Linked DNA regions of Homo sapiens: region 2 is linked to region 1. Evidence: promoter capture Hi-C in human tissues and cell types (Jung and others, 2019). All regions are on one chromosome and are shown on one strand. The core of a region is centred on a gene start or on the middle of the fragment in contact, and the rest is flanking DNA. Distances in the headings are between cores, read along the strand shown.

The links. The method cuts DNA at HindIII sites, captures the fragments that hold promoters and counts their contacts. A contact is called where the count stands out against the background at its distance.
Region 2: a contact is called between a fragment that was not itself captured here and the fragment with the promoter of ABHD3 in region 1, in 1 of the 25 tissues and cell types used here (IMR-90 fibroblasts).

The regions. Positions count from the first base shown.
Region 1 is chr18:21,700,999-21,708,881 of GRCh38, forward strand. It overlaps ABHD3 (abhydrolase domain containing 3, phospholipase), which reads right to left and starts at 3,776. Exons shown (of 9, transcript NM_138340.5): 1 at 3,506-3,776; 2 at 2,586-2,749; 3 at 1,318-1,500. The coding sequence starts at 3,667. It also overlaps a transcript of MIB1 not described here. RefSeq lists enhancers at 2,504-2,653, 4,114-4,183 and silencers at 3,174-3,943, 6,257-6,457. The HindIII fragment of the contact is 17,143 bases long and covers 1-7,883 here.
Region 2 is chr18:21,441,013-21,448,895 of GRCh38, forward strand. GREB1L (GREB1 like retinoic acid receptor coactivator) reads left to right here. Exons shown (of 33, transcript NM_001142966.3): 10 at 388-525; 11 at 3,212-3,397. All of the region lies in intron 1 of GREB1L-AS1 (GREB1L antisense RNA 1), which reads right to left. Among named protein-coding and RNA genes, the nearest start is that of GREB1L-AS1, 6.1 kb to the right of the region's middle. The HindIII fragment of the contact is 4,052 bases long and covers 3,062-7,113 here.

The DNA of each region.
Region 1 (7,883 bases), core at 2,526-5,025:
GTATGGTGCTTAAACATGGAATAATGATGAATTCCTGCTACTGCTAAGCAAATTTCTTGAATATAATTCTTGAACATCATAGTTCTTGAGAGAATGTTACTTCATGGACAAAATAGGCTATTATTTATAAAAGATCAGAATTAACTTGTTAAAATTAAGTTAGCTATCATGGAATTTTCCCCTTTACATCAAACATCAAAATGTTCTTCTTTCCTTTTTTTTTTTTTTCTTTTTGCCCAAGGTGTCACTCTGTCATCCAGGCTGGAGTCCAGTGGCACGATCATGGTTCACTACAGTCTCTACCTCCCGGGCTCAACTGATCGTCCTACCTCAGCCTTGTCAGTAGCTGGAACTATAGGTGCATGCCACCATGCCCTGCTAATTTTTGTAGACTAGGTCTCACCATGTTGCCCAGGCTGGTCTCGAACTCCTGGGCTCAAGCAATCCACCGGCTTTACGCCTTCCAAAGTGCTGGGATTACAGGCATGAGCCACTGTGACCAGCCTAAAATTATTTTTTTAAGGTAAACTTACCATCAGCTTTTCACACAAGTGTTTCAAGTTTAACAAAAGATACAACTCTACTTTAAATACAACTCACAGAGTGTTCCATTACAATAATTATCAGCTAAAAAAAAAAGCTGAGGCACAAAAAAGCAGTACCTTTTATAATGACTCTAAGATTCTAGAGCTGAACTTGAAACTCAAAGTTGCTAATCACTTGCAAAAAATTAAATTGTACCTGGTGACTGAGCTTAATAATGGTTACTCAGAAAAGCTGTGGCATCAACAACTGGAGACTAGCCAAGTGCACCTGCAAACTCAGGTGGTCAGAAGAGGCAGAGATCACCTTTGATAAATAGGGACAACCTACAAGCTGATTCTGAATATTTTTTGCACTTGGGAGCTGAGCCAGGGCGACAAGATTAGTGAATCCAGGCCCCAGAATGTGGCATGACGGCCACTGTGTACTCTCTCAGGGGTCTGTAATTGCTGTTCTCCCTCCATAACACACTCTCCATTGGGGTGGGGATGGGGGGAAGGGCTCAGTCAATGCTCAGATGATTCTAATTTCATTCATTAACTCAGCCTAAATCTGCAGAGTGTCTACTATGCTAAGTGACATTTCTTGTGAGATGATTCAGTTATGCATCTTCCTGAAAAGAAAGAGGAAAAAAAGAATGCAGAGAAAAATAATAATTTAAGGGACTGCTTTTCTATGCAAGAAGTACTAAGTATTTCTGAAACAAACATGTAGATATATTTGTACTTCATTTGGAATGGATCAAGTGAAAAAAAAGAAATCTTTTACTGGTACCTGTATCCTAATTCTTCACTAAGATGGATCATATGAAGGATATATGACTCCTTGCTTGTTCCCGTGAGGCCAGGCAACAATAAGATAGTAGGTCTGGTGCTGGCATCCATATAACACGTACTGTTATCATTATCAAACCAGTCCAGTGAAATCTGTCCTCCATCTGCAGTTTTAATAAGTTCACTGAAAGGAATAATTCAGAAGACATTACTATTTACATGTTTTAAGTCATGTCTTAATTTTAATTCTAAACACATGACATTATTTGCTCATCAAAAAATAACATTTTTCCAGCATTCACGAACACACACCCATATCTCGATCTACATATCATTTTCTTTCATTAGAAGGATTTTATGAAGATTAGTACCATCAAGTATTTCCAGCAACCTCCGTACAAGGTCGTATATAAAAATGAACTGCTAATTATTAAGATAAATGAATACTTACTCATTACTCCAAAACATCCAGCATTTAACCCTTGTTTGATTGAGGTCACTCAACTAATGCGACAGGGAAGTCTGAGTAAGTAAAATGCTGATCTAATCTCTGACCACTGCTCTAGCTCTTTGGACTCAATAATGCAGTCTCCTTGTATAGTATACTTCAAGATTTTCTTCTGAAATAATTTAAATTATTTCTCACATAGTATTCATGAACTTACAGAATTTTCCCAAACAAACAGTGCAAGTTCCAGGCAACAAAATAAACTCCAGAAGGATAGATGACTAAGGGAAATTAATAACAGGCACCATTTAAATCTGGTTCCTGATAAATCCTGGACCGTATCTTTAACACATCAAGAGCTATTATCATCAAGATCCCATTTGCCTGTCAATAGGAAGTCATTTTACACCAATAAATCGCCCAAAACCCAAATTAAGTGGCATCCTTCTCACCCCACCCCCCCCCCCAGTATCTGCTACTTATCAATGAATGAATGCAGATCATCAAAAGATCTGGGTCTTTCTGACAGATGTATGACAAACTGCGAGACAGTAATCCCCAAACACTTCTCTCATCCTAAAAATAAACCATTTACATCAGGTTGGCGGTTAGGGCGGGGACCAGGAGGCAAATACCTGCAGCTGGGGTATTTTCCTGCAGCTGGGGGTGGAGCCGGGGACGTACCTTCCATTTTCATTCCCTCTTTCTGTTCTATATACTTCCTAAAGCAGATTCTATTAACCAAGAACTGGGAATAAGCAAGCAAGCAAACAAACAACCTGTGATTTTGCAGAAATGACTGAAAACGGAAATTCACTTACTTCCTGTACTGCACCGGGGGCTTCGAAGTGATGAAAGGTCTAAGCAGGGTCTGTCCTCGACCCTCCCAGCACCAGACCGTCGGGTAGTACGTTTCTGTAACCACGGGACAGTGGTCTTGAAGGAAGCGGCTGAAACTCTCACCCCCGGTCACTAACTGGGGTTTCTGAAGGGAAAAGCAGTATCAGAGAAGGGCCCAGAGCAAAGTTTCTGCCAACCGTAAACCAGAAACCGGCAAAGACTTGTCGCTCGCGCGCGCGCTTCCTCCGATTACAACTCTTTCTGGAGGGCTGACGCAAAAAATTCACAGTCACAGAGGACTGAAACGGGGGTTTCGCCAATGCCCCGAGGGGAAGGCGAGAATCGCGATAAGGGAGTTTGTTTGTTTTTAACTCCGCCTCCCGGGTTCAGGGGATTCTCCTGCCTCAGCCTCCCGAGTAGCTGGGATTGCAGGCGTCCGCCACCACGCCCGGCTAATTTTTTGTAATTGTAACGGGGTTTCACCATTTTGGTCAGGCTGGTCTCGAACTCTTGACCTCAGGTGATCCACCCGCCTCGGGCTCCCAAAGTGCTGAGATTACAGGCGTGAGCCACCGTGCCCTGCCCGGAGTCATTTTCAAAAGCGCCACGGCGTTCCCGAGTGCGCCGCCGGCTTCGCGATCGGTGACCGGGCAGCGCCGCAGCGCAGAAGTCAGCCGGGTTCAGGCTGCGCTCCGAGGACCACCCGGCCGGGACCCCCAGGGGGCGGGCGAACGGGCGGGGCCTGTTGGCTTTCCCGCGCGCGCTGGGGGCTGCCGCTCGGGAGCAGCTCGCCGCCTATCCCCGGGGCTGCCGACCGCCCCTGGCCGCGCAGCCTCGCGCCGCGCCTGCTACCCTAGCTCCTGGCCCAGCAGCCCGCGGCCCTGCGCCACCCCCGGCTCACCTTGGCAATGCTGCTCAGGTAGTAGAAGGCATAAGCGACGCTGAAGCCCAGGATAAGGGATAAGCCCACCCCCGAGCCGAAGAACCCCACCCGGACTTGGTGTTCCAGGTAGAGGGAGAGCTCCCGGGACAACATCCGCAGGTCCATGGCCAGGCGCTGCATGGCCCCCGAGCGCGGCGCGCGGGTCCTGCGGCGGGAGGAGAGCCGGCTGGCGAGCGGGCGAGAGCGGGCGAGAGCGGACGCGGCGCCGCTGCCTACTCCCGACCACAGTGTCTCCTGCCTGGCGGAGCGCGGCTTCCGACAACGGGCGGGGCGGAGCGGCCCAGGGAGGCGTAGCCCGAGACTCCAACGCCGCCCGCTCCGCCCCGGCTTCCTGGAGCCGCCCCCACTGCCAGCCACTCAGGAACCTTCCAGAAGCGCGGTTCCAAGACCGGCCACCGGGAGGGCGGGCGGACTGGGTTCTCCCAGCTAGGTCGCAGTGGGCGATGGGGATCCCCAAGGGTGGGCCGAGAGCTGACGGATCGGCAGCGCTGGTTAAGGCCCCGCACCTGCAGCCCCAGTGACCTTGAACGATTCCGCTCTGCGGCGGGTGTCCCTAAACTAGCAGTTTAGGGTGTCAGGTAAGCGTGCCTTGCATTCAAAGATTTGGGGAGTTAATGCCAAAGATATGTTAGCAGGTAAGAATCCCACATCCTCTAGACGTTTGCGTTGGTCCTCAAGACTATGGAAAGAGAAAAAATATTCTATGAGCATTCAACAGTGAGGACATCATACTCGACTCTGAATCACTCTGTGAATCTTTTTAGTTGCTAAGTGTCACTTAAATGAGAAGTGGTCTCTGAAAATAAATGAAAAGGTCAAGAATAGCAACCGGGATTCAATTGTTAAAAGCCTATTTGTGGTTCATTAATGCTTTGAATTTAGAGACTTATGGAAATTCACACCGATTACCTAATGTACAGACAAGAAACCATTTATGAAGTAGGGTCTCCTAGGCTTATTTATGGCAATATGATAAATCAGGATACTTATGGTTATCTGAAATGGTTAGAATTTAATAGCCTATTCCTACTCTTATGAACTCCTTCCTCAGAGAGGTAGGAAGAATGGCAAGACTTAAACAGACGAAAGAAGGGAAAGTGCTGTCTAGATTATGAAAAATGCCAAAGGATTGTAAATTAATGATGTAATTTAGATGGGGACATGAGACGGACCAGAAGTGAGCAATTTATTTGGCTCCGATTTGGTCATTGCAACTTGGTGGTTGGCTGCAGCACCCAAAATAATTCAATTACCTTTACTGAGCCTGTTTTTTTCTTGTTTTAATAATCTGTAGCGTAACAATTTCTACTTTATAGAGTTCCCGAGAGGACAAGATAGTGTATATACTGGACTCCCCGTGAGCAGAAGTAATTTTCACGCTCTGGCTCTCACACCTGAGCACACATAGCAAACGTGAATGCATATGCTGGTTGCCATACTTGAAACTTCATAGCATTCTTCATAACCCCTGCACCAGCCTTCTGCACTACCTACCAATAAATGCATGCGTATTTCAGTTTAAGTTTGTTCTGTTTTGTTTTGTTTTGTTTTTTGAGACAGAGTTTTGCTCTTGTTGCCCAGGCTGGAGTGCAATGGCGAGATCTCGGGTCACTGCAACCTCCACCTCCCGGGTTCACGTGATTCTCCTGCCTCAGCCTCCCGAGTACCTGGGATTACAGGCATGCACAACCACACCCAGCTAATCTTGTATTTTCAGTAGAGACAGGGTTTCACCATGTTGACCAGGCTGGTCTGGAACTCCTGATCCACTCGCCTCGGCCTCCCAAAGTGCTGGTGAGAGGTGACAACGTGCTAGCAGCCCTCGCTCGCTCTCAGCACCTCCTCAGGCCAGGGCATCCACTCTGGCCGCGTTTGAGGAGCCCTTCAGCCCGCTGCTGCACTGTGGGAGCCCCTCTCTGGGCTGGCTGAGGCCGGAGCCAGCTCCCTCTGCTTGCAGGGAGGTGTGGAGAGAGAGGCGTGGGCGGGAACCGGGGCTGCTGTGCCCCGCGATCACGGGCCAGCGGGAGTTCCGGGTGGGTGTGGGCTCGGCGGGCCCTGCACTCTGAGCGCCGGCTGGCACCGCCGGCCCTGGCCAGTGAGGGGCTTAGCACCCAGACCAGCAGCTGTGGAGGGTGCCCCGGGTCCACCAGCAGTGCCAGCCCGCCAGCGCTGCACTGGAATTCTTGCTGGGCCTCAGCTGCCTCCCCACGGGGCAGGGCTCAGGACCTGCAGCCCGCCATGCCTGAGCCGCACCCCCCGCCCCACTGTGGGCTCCTGCGGGGCAAGCCTCCCCCACGAGCGCTGCCCCCTGCTCTGCCAAGCCGGGTTCCATCCACCGCCCAAGGGCTGAGGAGTGTGGGGCTGACGGGGCAGTACTGGTGGGCAGCTGCGGCTCCCCTGTGGGATCCACTAGGTGAAGCCAGCTGGGCTCCTGAGTCTAGTGGGGACTTGGAGAACCTTTATGTCTAGCTAAGGGATTGTAAATACACCAATCAGCACTCAGTGTCTAGCTCAAGGTTTGTAAATGCACCAATCAGCACTCTGTATCTAGCTAATCTGGTGGGGACTTGGAGAATCTTTATGTCTAGCTAAGGGATTGTAAATACACCAGTCAGCACTCTGTGTCTAGCTCAAGGTTTGTAAACACACTAATCAGCACCCTGTGTCTAGCTCAAGGTTTGTAAATGCACCAATCAGTGCTCTGTGGGGACTTGGAGAAATTTTGTGTCTAGCTCAGCGATTGTAAATGTACCAATCACCACCCTGTCAAAACGGACCAGTCAGCTCTCTGTAAAACAGACCAGGCAGCTCTCTGTAAAATGGGCCAATCAGCAGGATGTGGGTGGGGCCGATAAGGGAATAAAAGCAGGCTGCCCGAGCCAGCAGAGGCAACCTACTGGGGTCGCCTTCCACGTTGTGGAAGCTTTGTCCTTTTGCTCTTTGCAGTAAATCTTGCTGCTGCTCATTCTTTGGGTCCACGCTGTCTTTATGAGCTATAACACTCACTGCGAAGGTTTGCAGCTTCCCTCCTGAGCCAGGGAGACCACGAACCCACCAGAAGGAAGAAACTCCAAACACATCCGAAGATCAGAAGGAACCAACTCTGGACGCCCCTCTTTTAAGAACTGTAACACTCACTGCGATGGTCCGCGGCTTCATTCTTGAAGTCAGTGAGACCAAGAACCCACTAATTCTGGACACACGGGGATTACAGGCATGAGCCACTGTGCCTGGCCCAGTTTAAGTTTAAAGTGAAAGTATTATCGAATAAAATGTTTGTCTGAGCTTGGGCATTATAACAAAATACCATAGCCTAGGTGACTTAAACATACATGTATTTCTCACTGTTCTAGAGGCTGGAAGTTTGAGATCAGGGTACCGATGTGGTTGGGTTTTGGTGAGGGCCCTCTTTTGCCTTGCAGATGGCTTCTCAGGAAGCTCTGATGTCTCTTCCTCCTCTTTTAGAGGCACCAATTCCATCATAGGGACCCTGTCCTCATTATCTCGCCTAAACCTAACTACATCCCAAAAGCCGTGCCTCCTAATACCATCACCTTGAGGGGCTAGGGCTCCAACATGTGAAGGTGGAGGCGGGGGATACAAACATTGATGCCTATAATATTTTATGGCCATCATGGTGTGTAGAAAATGTACTGACCTAGGAGTAAAAAACAGCTCTGAACTTATCCACCAAACTTAGGCAAATCATTTACTCTTTGGGGGCCTCAGTTCCTTGTCTGTAAAATGAGATGATTGAGATGGAGGTTGTCCAAGTTTATTTCCTGTTAGAAAAACATTCTCCATCTTTCTTTAGAACTACTATTTTGGCTGGGCATAGTGGCTCACGCCTGTAATCCCAGCACTTTGGGAGGCCGATGCAGTTGAGTCACTTGAGGTCAGGAGTTCGAGACCAGCTTGACCAACATCGTGAAACCGCATCTCTCCTAAAAATACAAGAAAATTAGCTGGGCATGGTGGTGGGTGCTTGTAATCCCAGCTACTCAGGAGGCCGAGACAGGAGAATTGCTTGAACCCGGGAAGGCGGAGATTCCAGTGAGCCAAGAGCATGCCACTGCACTCCAGCCTGGGCGACAGAGGGAAACTGCCTGAAAAAACCCAAAAAACCAAGTAACTGTTATTCCCAATTTATACATGAGGAAATGAGAGCTCAGAAAGTTTAATTCATTCATTCAATCAGTGTCTTCTTGGGTGATTACAGGGCACTGAGGATCCAATCATAATAATACTTAGAGTCTAGTGTGGCAACAGAGGAGTAAGCAGTTACATTACAAAAAGTGTGGTGTCTGGGGATGGTTCCAGATGCAGCAGGTACACA
Region 2 (7,883 bases), core at 3,838-6,337, 260 kb before region 1:
TACTGGTTAATGATGAGTTCATCCTTCTTCACACTTTTCTATACCTTTCAAAATGTATGTAATGAACAGATATATGCCTTTGATAATCTTGGGGGGAAAGCTAAGATACCAAACAGGATCCAAAATATTGCATATGGAAAAAACAACTGGAAGGAAAATCAGCAAAATGCTAAATAGTAGTTGTAGCCACATGTTATGATTATGGTTAATTTTTTTTCTCCTTTTGTTTTTTTCACTTATCACTTTACACAATAAACCTAATGAAAAACACAACAAACCATTAGATTTCTAATGCTTCTCTGTTAAAAGTATTAAAACTGCATTGCTTTCTATTGTATTTCATTTAGTTTTCACGCCATCTTTCTTGTCAAACTTTTTTTTTTCCAGAGCCCCTTTTATCTGCCCCAGTTCCACAGACCCCACTAACTGGAATTTTACAACCCAGGCCCATTCCTGCAGGGGAAACTGTAATTGTTCCTGAAAACCTGCTGAGTAACTCAGGAGTTAGACCAGTAATTCTGATAGGTAAGGTAATGGAATTCCAAGTTGCCTGTGTCTGCTGGAATCTAGGAGTGTTTTTCCATTTCATTGTGTTTTTTCATGTATTCATGAAGATATTCATCCATCTGTTGATTCTGTCAGCTTTTATTGGTCAGCTCTTTCATGCTATATTAAACATGTGATTAGGAGCTGAGGATAAGGCAAAGTCTTTTTGCCCTCAAGGAGCACTGTTTAGTGGGGGAGTCTCACCTCGCATGAGCCACCAGCGTTGGTAAATAAGCATTACAACACATGGGCGATACCATTATAGCACACTGTGACATGTGAGCTCCTTAGAGGTTCACAACCAGGAGCAACCAGAACTCAGAGCTCTGAGAGAGGGCTTACCTCTGCCTGGAGGGATCTGAGAAGACTTCCCAGAGGTGTTGGTTAAGCTGGGTCCTGAAGGTTGGTCAAAGTGGACAAGGTCAGGGAGGAGACATTCCAGTCAAAGGGAGCCAAACCACAAAGAAATGAAACAAGCCAAGCCAGCTGAAAGACCCTACTCAAGAGAACCAAGAGGCCCTACAGTTGCAGGTCTGAACCTTAGCATCTTTGAGGAGGCTGAGTCCTTCCAGGTGGTCTACAAGTGGAGGTATAGACATTTAGGGGTCCCTACATTCCAGGACTAACTTAGTGCTTTTCATACCCATTTCAGGAGACTCCTTGGTTTAGGGCTGGCCTAGGCCAGAAGGAGACTGCTTGCTCTACCTTAAGGACAAAATAGATAGGGTGTTTAAGTTCCCCACATCTTTAGGGTGTGTTTACATGCAGTGTTATTTGCTTTTTGGGTTGGCCTGAGCCTGCCTAATTGGATGGTTTTGCTTGGAGTCATGTCCTTTACCTGGTTGCTTTATCTGCTAATCCTAGATCTGTAGGTACTGAGGGGATCCCAGTTGCTTAAATGCTGTATAGATTAGGAAGCTCTTTTTGAACATTAACATAGTGCCACTAAGCTTTGGAAAGATGCATAGAACGTGGGACCCTTTGGTCCTTTGGTGCCTGCCTTTTAGAAAGTCTCACAGAGGGACTATCCTCTCCATCAACCACCAAAACAGAGCATATTTTGGACATATTTTATCCTATCTATTTCAAAACAATTTGAGACTGTTTACTGACATTTAGGAAGACAACCTCACAAAAATAGCTAAGATAACAAAGGAACAGGGATCTCCAAGCACCTGAAACTAGAAGAATCTTGCTATTAATCAATGAATTTAGCTTACTTTTTTTTTTTTTTTTTAAAGAAAATCTCAGGAATATCTCCAGGTGGATAGTGTCAGAAAGGAAAGGAAAGGGGAAAGGAAAGGAAATCTCAGGAAGTGAAACATGTATTGTCATTTGTTTCTGTTTTTGTTTTTTGTCATTGTTTTTTGAGACAGAGTCTTGCTCTGTCACTCAGGCTGGAGTGCAGTGGCACAATCTCTGCTCACTGCAAGCTCCGCCTCCTGGGTTCAAGTGATTCTTCTGCCTCCTGAGTAGCTGAGATTACGAGCGTGCACCACCACGCTCAGCCTAGTTTTGTATTTTTAGTAGAGATGGGGTTTCATCATGTTGGCCAGGCTGGTCTCAACTCCTGACCTCAAGCAATCTGCCTGCCTCAGCCTCCCAAAGTGCTGGGATTATAGGCGTGAGCTGCACCCCACCTGGCCAGTGTTTTTTGTTTTTGAGACGGAGTCTCTCTCTGTGGCTCAGGCGGGAGTGCAGTGGCGCGATCTCGGCTCACTGCAACCTCTGCCTCCTGGGTTCAAGCGATTCTCCTGCCTCAGCCTCCCATGTAGTTGCATGCCACCATGCCTGGCTAATTTTTGTACTTTTAGTAGAGGCTGGGTTTCGCCTCTACTAAAGGTGAAAATGTTGGCCAGGCTGGTCTCAAACTCCCGACCTCAGGTGATCCACCCGCCTGGGCCTCCCAAAGTGCGGGGATTATAGGCGTGAGCCACCTTGCCCAGCCATATTGTCATTTGTTTGTTTTCTGATTTCTTATCTGAAAATAAACTTGATCAGGGACTTTATCAGAAATATTTTATCATTGCAGTTTTACAGAGGATACAGACATGTTTTGCAAACTCATCAGTCTTCCAGCAAAATATTAACATGTTCCTTCCATGAGAAACAGAGATAATATGAGTACAGTTGTCCCTTAGTATCCCTGGGGGATTGATTCCAGGCCCCGTCCCATATCAAATCGAATATCCTCAAGTCCCTCATATAAAATGGCACAGTATTTGCATATAACCTATGCACATCCTCCCATATACATTAAACCACCTCTCCATTGCTTGTAATACTTAATACAGTGCCTACACATCACGTCATTCACATGAATTCAGTGTACTACTCAGCCCACAGCAAATTCAAGTTTCACTTCTTGGAACTTTGTGGAATTTTTTCTTCTGACTATTTCAGTCCACGGTTGATTGAACGTGGAACCCACAGACATAGAGGGCCAACTGTATTTTCTTTCCTGTTCATTTAACTTAATATAAGGATAGAATTTGGAGCATCCAAGTGAATTCCCTGGGATTGATATGTTTGAGTGATTTGTTTGGTAGCTATCTCAGAGGGCAGGGAATTTTGTTAAGCAGCTTTGATCGTCGTTGAGCAAGTGTACCTGGTTGGACCATAAAAAGAAATGTTGAACTGTACTGACCTGCTTCTATTGGGACAGGCTATGGCACTTTACCCTATTTCTATGGAAATGTTGGTGACATTGTTGTGAGTCCTCTGCTGGTGAATTGCTACAAGATTCCACAGTTGGAAAACAAAGATTTGGAAAAATTAGGGTTGACCGGCAGCCAATTTCTGAGCGTGGAAAACATGATTCTTCTGACGATACAGTATCTTGTGCGGCTGGGTAAGTCATTTTCCATAATCATTTGCTGGTGACTACTTTTGAGGATTTTTTGTGATGTACTTTTTCTTTCTTTCTCACATTTATCCTCCTATCTCTTATTTTCCCTCTTTCGCTTCTAATGTTCTTTCCCTTCAACCCCATTCTCTGTAACTTTTCCCTTTCCTCTCCTTCATTTCTTTTCTACTCCTTTCCTTTCCTCTTCTTTGGGTCCTAGAGGAGATGAATTGCACCACCTAGTGTCCAGTCTCATGATGCTGCAAAGGTCTCCAAAGTAGTTAAGGTAGGCAGAACCTTAAAGGGTTGTGCCTTGAGCACCCCTTCTCTGGGGAGCTTGGCCAGGCCACCTTTCTGAAAGTGCACCTACCATCTGGAGTGCAAACACAGCCATTGTCTTAAACAATTATTTTCCAGTTTTCCACTTAGCCTTTTTATCTTGTTTATCCACTGGCCCTACACCCATTTTTTTTCTTCTCCAGCTACACCCCTTTGATGGAGTCCCATCGTGCTTTCCATCATTGAGGTCATAACTGTGGACCTCCCTGGAAGGTCTTTAAGCTATAGGGTAAGGGGGATATGTAGGTCATGAACCCTTCACTTCCTCTATCTGATATATTCTCCGAAGCCCCAAAGTGGGTGTATGCAGGTGCCCTGACAATACTAGAGTGGCTTAGCAGCATTTACATCGAAATGTCCTTTATTTTGCAAATGGCAGTAGGCCATCTAATTATACACTCACTCTATCACTTCAAGCCACTGATTTACTTAGAAAAATATTTGAGATGTGGCCGGGCACGGTGGCTCACGCCCGTGATCCCAACACTTTGGGAGGCCAAGGTGGGCGGATCACCTGAGGTGGGGAGTTCGAGACCAGCCTGACCAACATGGAGAAACCCCATCTCTACTAAAAATACAAAATTAGCTGGGCGTGGTGGCGCATGCCTGTAATCCCAGCTACTCAGGAGGCTGAGGCAAAAGAATTGCTTGAACCCGGGAGGCGGAGGTTGCAGTGAGCCCAGATCACGTCATTGCACTCCAGCTTGGGCAACAAGAGTGAAACTCCATCTCAAAAAAAAAGAAAAGAAAAGAAAAGAAAAAAATATTTGAGATGTAAAATTACACATAAAAATATTAGTATGCACTCTTGTGAAATTTTTTAATTTTAGAAAATACTTCAGTGTTAGGAGATAATAAAAACACTGGACTAAATAACTTTAAAAGAAAGAAAAAAGCTTTATTAGGGCATATTCAGTGTTTGGTGCATTAGCTAGCAATCTTGACTAGAACTCTGTGCCCTGAGAGGCTGCCTTGACTTGGCCTCTGCTTCGACATGGCCTTTTGAAATTTACAAGGCACCAATTTCATGATAAACCTAGGACTTACTAATGATGCTTATTGAAAGGTAATACAATTATAAAGCTCATCTGGGTCCACAGCTCATTTGATGACATAATTTTAATTGCTACATACTGAAATTAGATTATAGACTGTGTTCTAAGATCTAAAGCCAACTTCTAAATGCACCCAGAATTAGTAAAACCAGGCTTCATAAAGTGATGATATAGCCAACCAAGAAAATCACTATAGCACTCTTTTTCAGTTTGTTTGTTTGTTTGATTATTTGTTTGTTTGTTTTGAGACCGAGTCTCACTCTGTTTCCCAGGCTGGAGTGCAGTGGTGCGATCTCGACTCACTGCAACCACCACCTCCCATGTTCAAGCAATTCTCATGTCTCAGCCTCCCGAGTAGCTGGGACTACAGGCGTGAACCACCACACCCTGCTAATTTTTGTATTTTTAGTAGAGACAGGGTTTCACCATGTTGGCCAGGCTGGTCTCAAACTCCTGATCTCAGGTGATCCACCTGCCTTGGGCTCCCAAAGTTGGGATTACAGGCATGAGTCACCACGCCCGGCCTCCTTTTCAATCTTAATAGCAATTTTTAAAATCGGAGTCTAATTTAATTAAATGAACCAAGTGGTCAAAATAAGATATCTTTTCTTAAAGTACTAAATGCTCTTATCTTTTGTAAAGAAAAAGAAAAGAAAAGAAAAAAAGAAACAATTTCAATTTAATTACACAGATTCTTCTCTGACCTGCAGGATCAGTTCTTTCCTGAATTTGACTTGCAGTCAATCAGTTAGGCCTCTCGATATACATGAATAGCTATTTCTCTTTTAAAACCTAAGCTTTGTACATTGAGACATCTCTATCCCTCAACAACTGTTCTGGAGTCCTTTATTTATTTATTATTTATTTATTTCTTTATTTCTTGCCTCTGGAGGTTTCAAGAAGGCAAGCAAGAATAGTTTCACATATGGCATAGATTATAGACATTTAAAAAAATAAATCTAAACTTCTAAAAGGATTTTTAATACTTCAGCGGCTCAGTTACTTAGAGGTATCAGAGAAGAAGAAAAGCAAGATTCTTCAGAAGGAACCATACCTCTTCACTACAGTCACTTTTAAAAAATCTCAGTCATTTCACAGTCAGAAAATCTTTGAAGTAGATAATGAAATCAGCAAATCCAGAGATTCTTGTAAGGCTCTGAGTCTATTTAAACCTTGACTTTTCCTATTAAGGTAGTTCTTTCTGAAAAGTCATTAAAACTGATACCTCAGCTAACCTAAGTTATTGGAGATCAGCACTTGAAGGAAAAGATTATTGTTATCAAGCTTGCGAAAGTGGAGAAAAGACACCTGCAATGTAATTGTAAAGGCTGAGGATGAGGTACTGGGTGTGGTGGCTCACGCTTGTAATCTCAGCACCTTGGGAGGCTGAGGCAGAAGGATCACTTGAGCCCAGAAGTTCAGAACTGCAGTGAGCTATGATTGTGCCACTGTACTCCAGCCTGGCAGACAGACAGAGACCCTGTCTCTAATTAAAAAAATTTAAAAAAAAAATTTTTTTAAAAGGCTGAGGATGAAAAAGTGATAGTTGATTTTTGGAAACAAGGCATTTTACTCTAAGAAGTCTCTTACCTCATTTAAACTTAATACCTTTTCCTCCACTTCTTGATTCCTAATTGTACATCAGTCAAAACTGTATAAAAGCGAGCTTTAAGGCAACAAAGGATGTTGTGAACATGTTTAGTAATTTTATTTTCCCAGAATGCCTTTGTGCTTTCAATTAATTATGCCTCCTGATAGAATATGTTACTTAGTCCTGGAGTGAGTCTTATGGACTACTAACCAGGCCCCTGAGCTTTCAGGTTGTTAATGAAAGACGGTAGGGAATTGGAGACAGCCAGGGCCACCTGCTTTTCAGCTGTCATGTTCTGGTGGAAGAAAGCGTTAAATAAATGACCACCTTCTATCCACTTTGAGCTCACTGAAAAGTGTTTACCTAGTGACAATTAACCATGATGCCAATTTGATAAAGCTGAATGAAGATCAGACATCTTGGTGGCTCCTAGGTGATTTTTTTTTAAAGAGCATCCCTCCACATTCCCAGCAAGTTTTTTGAGGACAGTAGAGGCCAGGCACGGTGGCTCACACCTGTAATCCCAACACTTTGGGAGGCTGAATAGGGTGGATACTTGAGGTCAGGAGTTTGAGAGCAGTCTGGCCAACATGGTGAAACCCCATCTCTATCAAAAATACAAAAATTAGCCAGGCATGTTGGGCATGCCTGTAATCCCAGATACTCCGGAGGCTGAGACAGGAGAATTGCTTGAGGCCAGGAGGTGGAGGTTGCAGTGAGCCGAGATCGCGCCACTGCACTCCAGCCTGGATGACAAAGGGAAACTGTCTCAAAAAAAAAAAAAAGCAGCAGCAGCAGCATAGAAGAAACACAGACATAATGTATACATTACCATTTTCTTGCCCTGTTTCCATGTATAGAGGAGAAAAATCTGTTTATGAGAATTCTACTCTCCTACCTCTCCCTGGCCTCCACCCAATCCTGGAAAAACTGTTTTCTCCAATTAAAATTGTTGTTTTTATAATGTATAAGATTTTATTTAATTTTCCATATCTGAAGAGCATTACTAAACACCTCATTTTCTTACTTTCCCAGAAAAGATGGGAAGGGCCAGAGAAACCACTTAGATCCCTATTAGAGGAAGGAATGGGTCTGACTCATTTGTGGTGCCTCCTTCTCATGCAGAAGTCCAGCCCATCACCCCTTTGTTCTTCCATAAGGGGCTTTTAGCCATGGGTTCTGGGGCTGTTGCTTGGTCTCAGATCACAGACACTGAGGTGTCTGAGCTGGTTTATGGGAGCCTGAGTTTCAAATATTGGGTTCACACAGCAAAAGAAATGATTGAATAGAGGGAGTGACTGTATTCTCACTGCTTTCAATTTAAACTAAATGTTGAAATCTTAGTTCATTTGTGTCATTTGGATACCAAACATTGACTTGCTTATTTTGTTCTAAAGGCTGGTTGAGTTTCTAAAGAGAATAAGGAAGAAAATCCCCCTGATTCCAGGGGCCACAGGTCAGCAGTATAAGTTTTGCTCCAACTGGTTGGAGAAGAGGGCCAAATGGC